3 separate regions of the Homo sapiens genome follow, and regions 1 and 2 are each linked to region 3. The links are contacts of gene promoters, found by promoter capture Hi-C in blood cells and fetal thymus (Javierre and others, 2016). All regions are on one chromosome and are shown on one strand. The core of a region is centred on a gene start or on the middle of the fragment in contact, and the rest is flanking DNA. Distances in the headings are between cores, read along the strand shown. Region 1 has its middle 130 kb from the start of FAM124B. Region 2 has its middle 110 kb from the start of FAM124B. Region 3 holds the start of MRPL44 (mitochondrial ribosomal protein L44).

Region 1 (3,904 bases), core at 854-3,353, 310 kb after region 3:
AGACGGAGCCCAAGTGAGCCGCAGAAAGGATCTTTCTTGGGTTTTTTGTTGGTTTGCTTTTGTTTTTGTTTGCTTTTGAGATGGAGTTTTGCTCTTGTTGTCCAGGCTGGAGTGCAGTGGTGTGATCTCAGCTCACTTCAACCTCTGCCTCCCTTGTTCAAGCAATTGTCCTGCCTCAGCCTCCCCTGTAGCTGGGATTACAAGCATCCACCACCACATCCAGCTATTTTTTTGTATTTTTAGTAGAGATGGGGTTTCACCATGTTGGCCAGGCTGGTCTCAAACTCCTGACCTCAGGTGATCCACCCACCTCGACCTCCCAAAGTGCTGGGGTTACAGGCCTGAGCCACCGCGCCTGGCCATCTTTCTTGGATTTCACCATGTAGACAGTAGTTTCCAATAGTTCAGTTTAGGCCATTTGTTAACTAAAGGTCACAGATACGCCCTGAGTTTTTGGAAAACCTGCAGGTCAGCTTAACTTTGGGACTTTCACTGTTCCTATTTATGCCACCTAAACCACCTAATAGGCTGTGACCTAAATAACCAATCAGAACTCATCAAAGATCAAGCAATCAAAACTAAGCAAGTTTGAATCCTTCATTCACATAAGAGGACCTGAGAGGGAACCTAGGTGGGCACACTCTCTATAAAAAATAAACCCTTTTCTTATTATCTGGAATGCACTTCCAGTTAATACTGAAGCTACATCTCTGCAGTTTGCAACTTTTCACTGGAATAAAACCTCTTTTTTCTAAATCTCTTTTCAGGGAACTTCTTCACAGGGTTAAATTGTGTCCTCCCAAAAAATATAGTATACTGGAGTTCTAGCCCTTAGTACCTTAAAGTGTGACCTTATTTGGAGATAGGATCTTTACAGAGGTAATCAAGTTAAAATAAGGTTATTAGAGTGGGCCCTAATCCGATATGACTGGTGTCCCTATAAGAGAGAAAATGTGGACACAGAGAGGCAGAGAGAGAGATGTATTGACAGAGCATGATGTAAAGACATGCACACGGCAGAACATCCTATGAAGACAGGTTGTGCTGCCATGAGTCAGGAGACTACCAGAAGGTAAGAGGGACACATAAGACCGATCCTTCCCTGGTACTTTCAGGGAAAGCATGGCCCTGCCAACAGCCTGACCTCAGACTTCCAGCCCCCAAACCATCAGACAATACATTTCTGTTGTTTAAGCCACCCAGCGTGCAGTACTTTGTTACAATAGCCCCAGAAATACATTGGTGAAATTAGGCTGAGTCCAGTTCTCATTGTCACTGGCGTTAGATTCTACGGATCTTGCTTTCTTCACTGCAGTATCAACCACTGATCATCTGTGACCTTTATGGCTGATTGAATCAAGGAACTCCAGGCCTCAAAATATGGAAGACTGAATGGGACCAGATGGACATTTCAGAGAAGATCTGCACCAGAAATATTGATTGTGAGGTAGTAAAGAATGTCATAAAGCCAAAAATACAGAGATGACAAAATTATAGAAATGGAGAATAGATCAGTGGTTGCCAGGACTTAGAGAGGGAGAGAAGGATCTGAGCATAAAAGAGTAGTGCTAAGGAACTCCCTCATGGTAACGGAGCAGTTCCGTGTCTTGTTAGCTCTGGTGTTACACAAATCTATACGTGGGGTAAAATCATACAACTATGCACAGAGCATGTAAAAAAAAAGAGTGTATTCAAAATCTGGTGACATCCAAGTAATATCTGTAGTCTAGTTAATTGTACTGTTCTAATGTCAATTTCCTAGGCTTAATAACGTACTGTTGTTAAGTAAGATGTTAGTTACAACTGGAGGAAGCTGGGGGATGGGTACGCAGTGTCTCCTGGTAATATTTTTGCAATTTCTTGTGAGTCTGTAATTCTCTCAAAATAGAAAGTGTTTTATCAAAAAGAAAGGTTGGCTGGAACCTAGAAGCTAGAGGTCTTAGTTCATTAATTTCTACTATTTATGTGGTTTCAACCTTTGACCTTGATGGCCCTGGTGTAATCGCTTGTTAACTTAACACTATAGTTCAGAATGTGATACTTTAATAATCACAGCCAGTTTTTAAAAATGGATGTCAAGGGCAAAGAGAGCAAAATGTTAAGCATGCACCGTGGAACATGTTAGAATTTCAGTTATTAATCTGACTCTCATAATTTCTGATCTGATTTGAACCTGTTAAATAGCTAACACACTCCAAAGTTACATCTGTGTTTCATTGGTTGTCAGCTGGTGACTGCTGCAATTTTCACATTGAGATTATCTAATTCTGTACCAGCATGATTTTCACTTAAAAAAAATGAGTTTATGAAATGTAATCATTGATTCTAAGAAGTGTTCCAGACTTAATCATTAGTATCTTTTAAACTTCTCCCTGGTGCTTCTTTAGAGATGTAATCAAATCTGATGCTCTTCAGGAAAATTTTCAGGAAATATTCATATATTTTGTTTCCAAATTCATTTTTTAAATGGTGGTACTTAAAATACATTGGTAGCAGAATAACCAAGCTACAGAACAGGATTATGGATGATCCCATTGGTGTATGAAATATCTATGTGTGGGTACATGTGCATTTATTTTAATATATGAATAGGAAGAATAGACATCACACTGTTAACAATGATTACTACTGGAAGATTGAAATTGCAGGAGACTCATTCTCTAAGGAATACGTATATTTCCAAAATATTTAGTCAATAAAGACCAAAGTGATATTTGATGCCCTTCCCAATCATACTGGTCAACAATCAGCATGTGTCCACCTCATTCTTCTATCACTACACAAACAAGCACATACACAGTGTCTATTAGCAGATCACTAACCCTGCAGTAATGATGCTGAGGAAGTCTTAGATTATAGGGAAGAATCCCAGGTATTATTTTCTTTTGTTTCTTTACCTCTTGCATTTTAATCCAGCCTAACTGTAGCTGTACATCTCAATCCAGCTAAATCACTATATCCTGTTCCAAATTCTTTAACCCCCCCGCTTTTTTTGGCAGCCTCAGAACCCTTGGGTTTACAGCATTGGCCTCCATCTCACCTCTAATGTAGAGAATGTGGTGTTTACAAGTAGTCTGTTGTGTCTGAACCTTAACTTGGTTACTCCTATGGCACAGAGTCTTCTGTGGGAGTCCTTCCTCTCAGCTTCAACCTGATCCCTGTGTTCCTCTGTTCTGCTAGTGATGGCTGGGGCAAAGAATGCCCTGCTTAGCACTGCAGGTGAATTGTGAGGGAGAGAGGAGCCTAGGTGCCAGCAGCCTGGAAAACATGCAGCAGGGACTGAACATGGTTATACTTGGGCAGAGCATAACCAGAGCACAGTAACATCAATAAGGACATAAAGAAGATAGGAGCTTGCTGCCTGATGTGGTTTTTGTACATCCAGCTCCCATACACATGTATTCAAGTCTAAGAAGTAAAGGGAGACCCAGAACTCTCCAGGAATACAGGAAAGAGAAAGACAACATACATGATGAGTCACTAATCTCCTAAATAGGCATGTGTGGAAAAGGAGAGGGTTCTACCTTTGCAGATAAATCACGGCTGGGCAGGGGGTGGGCAGTGCTGCATCTGGAGAGGGTGCCACAAAGTAGCAGGGTCACAGAAGTCTTCAAAGACCGTGTCATACTGAGAAGTTGACCCTCTGAAGTCACTGACCCAGGACAGAAGATAAGTTTGTTGACAGTCTGAGCCCTCTTCTTTTGAAACCCTCCCTATATAGAGAACAGGGCCAAAGTCCAAGACACAATCATGACAAAAACCCTGGCCCTCACCCTTTATGCGAGAAGCTGAAGATCAGTTCATCAATTACCAGCGGGATTGCGGTGAGAGGACCTCAGCTCTGAAAGATTCATGCTTCATAAACTTGAACTCTGATGAGAGATATCATCCTTTCCCCTGGAAA
Region 2 (3,920 bases), core at 1,028-3,527, 330 kb after region 3:
AGTAGCAATCAGAGACTTACATGTTTGGCAAATCCTGATCAATAGATCAACTGGGACATGGCTTCACTCTTTAAAAGTGACAGAGAGAGAAGTTCTTCAATTTTCCAACTTTCAGAGTCAATAGACTAGATAAGGTTATATTAAAGTTATATAAACCTGAACTAGTAGGATAACCAAATACTTGTTCCCCTCTGAAAAGTTGAAATATTAAAACAAATTTTACCCAGAATGTGTCTCTGGATTTTTGTGGTTGTTTTCTCATGTGTGTGGTTTGGTTTGTTTGTTTGTGTTTTTTTAGACAAGGAAAACTTAATTGAGTAGTAGTTTTATCTCTTACTCATTTTAACAGGAGCATGTATGCAGAGGCCCAAATTGCCAATCACCAGTATTTATCCACATGGAAAAATCCTAAGGACATTAATTATAAATGATTTATCATCCACTCAAATAGCAGGAAGGAGAATTGAAAGGCAAATTTGAAACAGGAAATGTTATTCCTTAAAAACAAGGGCTTTTCCTCATTTCTTTGAAAATAGCTAACTCAAGGATTAATTTCACTATCAAATCAACAGCTAAGACTTACCCTACCATTTCTACCCATTAAGGAGCTATTACTAACAAAGTATCTGCAGATATGGATAACAGCTACTAACGGGGGGCATTTTAGGATTCCCTTATGAAATGGTATCATGGTGGTGCGGGCGAGCAGGGATCCATAAACCCAGCTCAAGTAGGGTGAACTGTGTGTTATAGGTCCACTTGTTAAGATAATTTACTCACTTACAGAAACTTTTTTTAGATTACATATACACTCAACATACATGTCAACTTTTGTATGGAGTGATGATTGCTGTCCAAGGCTGCAGGAAATAGGTGGGAATTTTTATCCTCAACCACTCTGCAAGGGATCCTGCATAAGAACCACCAACATGACCCACATATGGTGGTGAGCTCCACATCCTCGCTATTGCCACTTGGAAGGGGACAGCATCTGCCAAGGCTACCTGTGCTGAGGCAGTAAAGGCGGGCATGCTCAGATCGCCCGAAGTAAAGCATAAACAAACTCTGTTTATGAAAACAGTGCAATCAGCTTGACTATCCAATAAAAATGTGTATTTTAAAAGTATGTTTATACCAGGTTCAACTTGAAAATTTCATTAGGATAATCTGGATGACAGGGAAACTGAATGCAGGAGCTAGCAATAATCACTAGCATTTTTGCAGTCTCATTTGGATGATGGCATTTCCTTTTGTCACCACTGGGAAGGCAATTCAAGTGCCTGTCCCTACCCACAGGATGACTTTTCTCATACACTGAACTGAACCACAACCATCAAATGATCAACCCGACTGAGAGAAGAGCCTGTTTTTGAAAGGGCTAAAATGTCAGTGATTTAACTCTTTCCAAAGAATTAAGAAAACTCATAGTTGATTGTACTTGATGTTATTTTCCCGTCTTCCTGGTTTGCCTGTGACATCAGACAAAGCCATATTTGAGTCTGAGTTTTCTCAGTCATAAGAAAACTACATAAAAATTTGCTAGTTACTTTTCAACAGTTGTTTATTCCATAAAAAGGTTTCCTATAAAAGTAGGATTTTATAAAATCCTAATTACTGCAAAGAAAAATTTCCTCCTGACACACTCAAACCATATAATACTATAGCTAGCTAAATATTAATTTAATGGTAGACAAAGGACATAGGATATTCACAAAAAGAAATATGAATGACCAGCAAATACATGGAAAAGTTTAGCTCTTTTTATTGTCAAAGTAATGCAAATATAAACAGGATATTTTTCCCTCCTATCAAACTGGCAGAGACTTATTTTGGATGATAGTATTGGGTGTTGGCAAGGACGTGACAAGTGTGCAGACTCTCTCATGCACAGCTTAAGGAGGATTAAGCAGTAGAGACGTTCTGGCACCAGTGTGTCCTCATATATAACAAGGGCTTCAAACAGCAAAATTATAGCTTGGCTCAGGAATTCCACTGCTGAGAACCCATAGCTGAACTTGCTAATTTTCCCCTAATATCCATTGTCTCTTTAATTTTTAGGTAATTAAATTCTGAATTTTAGCTGGGCATGTGGCTGCCCAGAATAAACATTACATATCCCAGCCATCCTTACAGTTAGACAGAAACTGACTAAATTCTAGCCAATGGGATATAACTGAAAGTATTATGTATAAGCTCCCGAGAAATGTCATTAAAAGGCAGCTGCAGTAAGTCTTTTCTCCTGTTTTGTGCCACTTGGAATGTAAATGGATGGTGAGGCTACATCTTGGATCGCAAAGATGAGATCCTCACTCCATTAGTGTTAGATGAGAAAACTGGAAGTGGCTTGGGTCCCAGATGACCAAGGAGATGCAGTGCCACTCATGGTTCTATGGGATGTTTAAATGTAGAATTTCGTGTTACAAAGAAATAAAAAGCACCTGTCATTATGCCACTGTTGTTATTTTGGTTCTCTGTTGCTCACAACCAACATGAAATATATGCTAAAAATTCACCAAAATTTCATGTTCATGAATGTTTATGTTCACTATTGTGAAGAGCAGATAAATATCTGTATGTTCAATAATAAAAGAACAATTATATAAATTATGTTCATTTGATGCAACATACTTTACAATGCAGTCATGCAGTCATGAGAATCTTAGTTTTGAGGATATTTATTGACAGCTCATGACATATGCTAATTAGGGGAATGGAGAATAATACAGTCTTTCACAAGCACACACATCTTCATTTTAACTAAAACTAATGTATTAGTACTTATTCATGTTCATTCACATATCTATTTTGTAAACAAATTCTAGATATTTCCACTTTCGTATCCAGCCTGTAGTTTTCAGCTGCTAGATTGGGGATAATTCGTTATGTAGCAATATGTAACCAATGCATTTTATCTTACCTATTTTTATCCTTTTCTTTCTTGACTTCTTTTGAATAAATCAATTTTTTAATCATTCTGTTGTTTTTCTCTGGTAATTTAGAAATTATACGTTGTTCTTTTATTCGTTTAATTATTACCCAAAGTTACAACTTGTGTATTAACGTATCAATGTCTACAGTTAGCACCTTTATTTTCTGCAAAATATAAGGACCTTGAAGAAAACTTTTCAATTCAACTTATCCCCTTCCAACTTATATATTATTATGGGGTGTATTATAATTCATTACTATTATTATTATTACATTCCACAATTATTTTAGTTTGCTTTTTAATTCTTTGTTTATTATTACATCTCAACTCTTCCATGTAGAATCAGTTTTATCCTGATTGAAATAAACCATCTGTTACTTTTCTTTTTAATAGAGACGGTTCTCACTATGTTACTCAGGCTGGTCTCTTGAGCTCAAGGGATCCTCCCACCTCAGTCTGCCAAAGTGTTGGAATTACAGGTGTGAGCCACTGTGCCCAGCCTGTAATTTTTTAATGAGGGTCCACTTATAGAAAAACTCTTTCATTTGTTTAAAATGACTTCATTCAAAAATATATACAAGATAACATTTTTTTGATTTTCATTGTTGATGTTGGGAAGTTAGCTATGACTCTCTAAATATTGGCCCTTTGAAGATTATCCTTTTTCTCTTTTTCTTTGATTTTCTGAAGAGACGTTTATGATATGTCTAGGTGTGGAGCTCATTCTCTTATATCTCCTTCTGAAACTCAAGAAAAATATGAAACATATATCTTTAATCTCTCATTAGAATTGATTTTCCTTTTATTTTCCTCCAAGTTGTATTGTGGATTATTTCTACGGGGATTATAATTTTGCTTGTTACATTTATCTTATTTCTAAAATTATGTTTCTCATTCAAATCTGCTGTCACTTTTTATTTTTACTTTTCTATTCTAGTCACAGGTATTTTAGATGTGTTTTTTTTTTCTTTCTTTTTTTTGGGGGTGGGGG
Region 3 (3,906 bases), core at 527-3,026:
AAACTCGAAAGTTGTTGACATCTGTGAGCTTTGATCAAATTAGGGCTAACAGCAGGTTAAAGGAAAAATCAGGTTTTTGAGGGCTGAAAAACACATTGGCCTTTTTCTTCCTTAAAGTTTTCTGAGCCTGGATCCTGGAACCAAGTCCTCCTCCTATTATGTGTTTATTGAATAAATAGACAAATGTATGAGCAGATTTTAAAAAACTGGTTAATTCCTAAGTTCCATGAAGGGCATTAGTAGAAGAAATCTTTTGAGGACCTACATTTTTTTAATCTGCAAATGATGCTCTCGTTGTTGTATGACTGAGAAACTCTCAACACAGAGACACCTCATTTTAACTTAACATGATTGTGCTACAACTGGCTTAGATTATTTTTCCTAATAAATGAAATTCTACAGAAATGACAGTTCCCTGCATTTTCTCCTAATCCATTTATTGGATTGATGTTCCATGAATTTTCAATACTTTACATACATTGAAACAAGAAGGTCAATCGTAACCTCCTTTCACCCCTTCTTGGAGAATTTCCTTCAACCAGAAATCCATCAGTTTGTTTTTTGGTGTGTGCTCAGCCCCTCTTTTGCTCTCTCCCTCCCCAAAGGGAACCCTTTTATAAGCTGAGATGAACCATTTAGATTCTCCCTTTTGAAATGGTCAAGCTGAGAAACCCAAATTGAGTTCTATGATCCTGGCACTGAAGATTCTCGGGCTAAGTCATAACATGCTTTGTGGTCTGTGTTTCAGAGAGATGAATGTAGGTGAGCTGTGTCTGGGGAAGGGAGGAAGGTACCAGGCCAATTACACTAACCACGGAAAGAGGTGAGGAGAGCCACCAGGTACCTGCAGTGGAAATAAATGGAAAAAGCACTTGGTGGAAACTGCACCGAAGAGGGGGTTTGTCGAAACAAAAACAATCAAAGACATAGGAGTTCAATCTGGGTGACTGCTGGGGACACAGATGCCTTTAACAAAGAGATCACAGAAAGCATTGCCCCTTTGAGGGTCTAGATGTTCAGCAGGCAACTCAAAACTGGGAATTCAAACAAGCCTCCCTTTGTGACTTAATATGTTCTTTTAAAAATTGTACTGTATTAACAGTTTGGTAGGAAAGCAATAGAATTACATTGTTAAAGAGTGTTAACATAAAGAAGGAAGAAACTGTAATTCCCCTATTACCGTTTTATGTTTTTTTCCAGTCATTTTCCGGATGTTTAAAAATATGTACTATTAGATTGCTTTTAAAGAAAAATTTTAATTTTGGATAAGCCAACATTTCTGAGTCTAGGGTTTCCAAAACTAAGGCTTTTGGAGGCGTGCTGGGTCAAAAATAGAAGCTCGGTAAATACTTGCTCAGTAGTGGCCTAGAACACTAAATATAAATTAAAAATGTTTTCTTTTTTTGAGGATTTAAATGTTTCCTTAACCTGAAAGCGAAACAGATTTTTGTTTGTTTTGCTGTAACGAGAGAGGAAGGAACAAGAGAGTGACAGGGTGAAGCAACTTCTCCCAGAAACTTTTGGGCGCAAACGCCCTCAAGTCCGGATCATTGGAAAGTAACTCGAAGAGAGGAGAGAACTAGCGCAAGCGTAGCCTCAAGGCGGCCGCAATCACCCCGCCCCGGGGCTGTCTCCGCCCCTGCCCTCTCTCAGTCGCCCCGCCCCGGGGGCTGTCTCCGCCCCAGCCTTCTCTTCGCGTTCCGCGTTCCGGGTTCCGGGGGAAGTGTGTTACGGGGACACTGGCCCGACTACTTTCGTTCCGTCTTCCATCGTTTTCTCTCGTGCAATGGCGTCCGGGCTGGTAAGATTGCTGCAGCAGGGACATCGCTGCCTCCTGGCTCCAGTCGCCCCCAAGCTGGTCCCTCCGGTTCGGGGAGTGAAGAAGGGATTCCGCGCCGCCTTCCGCTTCCAGAAGGAGTTAGAGCGGCAGCGCCTTCTGCGGTGCCCGCCGCCGCCCGTGCGCCGGTAGGAGCCACCTCGGGAAGAGGTCTCAGGGTGGCGGTCGCAGACACTGGGTCTTCTTCCCGCGGCGTCGTGTCTGCGGCTGATGCGCCCCTGGGTTAAGCCTTAGGAAGTTTGCGATGGAGACACCCGTGAGCTGTGGGCGCGGGGCCTGAGGCAAAAAAAATGGATTTGTGCCGCGGGCGGTAGAGCTTCGGGCTGTTCCCGACGTTTTGAAACTACCATTTAGGATTTTGGCTACTGAAAATTGGGAGAAATGGGGCTAACTGGAGGGTCTTCCTTATGTGGACTTGGATGTTGTAGTCCCCGTTTGTAATGCCTGAGAATTCCGATAAGCGGGAAGAAAGCAGCCCACAGCATCGTAAATTAAGGAGAAAAAAAATTAATCTACAACCTGAATTCTGCTGTCTAGAGTAAAAGGAAAAAAAGTTAGCTTTAGATTTTTGCCCTAATTAATGCTGTTCTGGTAACAGGTTTGGCAGAGAGAGACACAGGTTTTTATAGCTTCAAACCAGATCATACTTTACATAATTTAAATTCCTTCATCTTGCTTTTTCTCTTTAATAATGTGTGTTTGACATGTTGTCATGGTATTACAAAGATATGTACCTCACTCTTTTTTATGGCTCTGTATATATGGGCCTATGAGCTCCATATTATTGCCATTAAAACCTATGTAACAGCGCGTAAAGGGGACGCATGTGTAGTATGAAATTTTGAAAGCTATTAGTACTTTAACATTGCCCTCCAAAAAATGTTGATCCACTTTGTACTCCTACCAGTAGGAACGGTCTTCTAACAGAGAAGATTATAGCAAAAAATAAAATCTCTTCTTAATTCCCATTCCCTTGTTTATTATAAGATTAAGTATTTTAGGCTCTCAAAGGTGGAAGAAACTTTATGGGTTGGACAGATTATATAGGTGTATATGTTATATGTATATCTTACGACTTTCAACCTAGGTTTTCATACTTTGCTTCCCTTTGTTTCTTAAAGGGGTTTTATATTGTGTTACGTATAAGTAATCCAGAGATGACTTAAAGTATACAGGAGGATGTGCATAGGTTATATGCAGATACAGGTATACCTCATACATATTGTAGGGTTGGTTCTAGACCACGACAATAAAACGAGTCACATGACTTTTTTAGTTTCCCAGTGTATACCTAAGTTATGTTTATACTATTCTGTAGTTTATTAAGTGTACAGTAGTAGTGTCTAAAAAGCAATATATGTACCTTAATTTAAAATACTTTATTGCTAAAAAATGGTAACACAGAGACACAAAGTGAGCACATGCAGAATTGCTACAGACCTTCAGTTTGTAAAAATAAAATGCAATAAATCTGTGAAGCACAATAGACCGAAGTACAGTGAAACGAAGTGTGCCTGTACTACACCATTTATATGAGAGACTTGAGCATCCATGAATTTCAGTATCCAGGAGAGTCCTTGGAACCAATCCCCTACAGATATTGAGGGATGACTGCAAATATAACATACTAGTGTTTATGGCTTGAATCTGTGAAATTAACATTTATGCTTCATACTTAGGTATAAAACATAGTATCATGGTTAGAGCAGAAATAAGGAACCTAAAAGTTAGGCTAATGGCTTGGTCTTTTATATTGAAGAACCAATTTCATGTGACAATTGGATCAAAGGGAAAATTAATCCAGTCATATATGTAGAATATAGCAAAGGACTGCCAGTATTTATCTGACTTTAGTCTTAACATTTAGAATATCAACCTGGCATTAAAAAGAAATATAACCTTCTTTCATTTCCTTTATATAATTAATAACATTACAACACAGTGAACAATTTTTATATCACAGTAACAGGTTGTTCTCTTTACCATCTCTTACTGTCTTTACATTTTCAGTTCAGAGAAGCCGAACTGGGATTACCATGCAGAAATACAAGCTTTTGGACATCGGTTAC

What was found. Contacts are between HindIII fragments. The CHiCAGO score rates a contact against its expected background, and 5 or more counts as called.
Region 1: a fragment that was not itself captured here is called in contact with the fragment with the promoter of MRPL44 in region 3 in 1 of 17 cell types (megakaryocytes); the score reaches 7.3 in megakaryocytes.
Region 2: a fragment that was not itself captured here is called in contact with the fragment with the promoter of MRPL44 in region 3 in 8 of 17 cell types (megakaryocytes, naive B cells, naive CD8 T cells and 5 more); the score reaches 8.4 in megakaryocytes.

The regions. Positions count from the first base shown.
Region 1 is chr2:224,268,797-224,272,700 of GRCh38, forward strand. No RefSeq gene overlaps it. Among named protein-coding and RNA genes, the nearest start is that of FAM124B, 130 kb to the right of the region's middle. The HindIII fragment of the contact is 8,330 bases long and covers 1-3,904 here.
Region 2 is chr2:224,285,823-224,289,742 of GRCh38, forward strand. No RefSeq gene overlaps it. Among named protein-coding and RNA genes, the nearest start is that of FAM124B, 110 kb to the right of the region's middle. The HindIII fragment of the contact is 8,711 bases long and covers 1-3,920 here.
Region 3 is chr2:223,955,687-223,959,592 of GRCh38, forward strand. MRPL44 (mitochondrial ribosomal protein L44) reads left to right here and starts at 1,777. Exons shown (of 4, transcript NM_022915.5): 1 at 1,777-1,965; 2 at 3,848-3,906. The coding sequence starts at 1,787. RefSeq lists a silencer at 1,552-1,621 and an enhancer at 1,692-1,861. The HindIII fragment of the contact is 10,687 bases long and covers 1-3,886 here.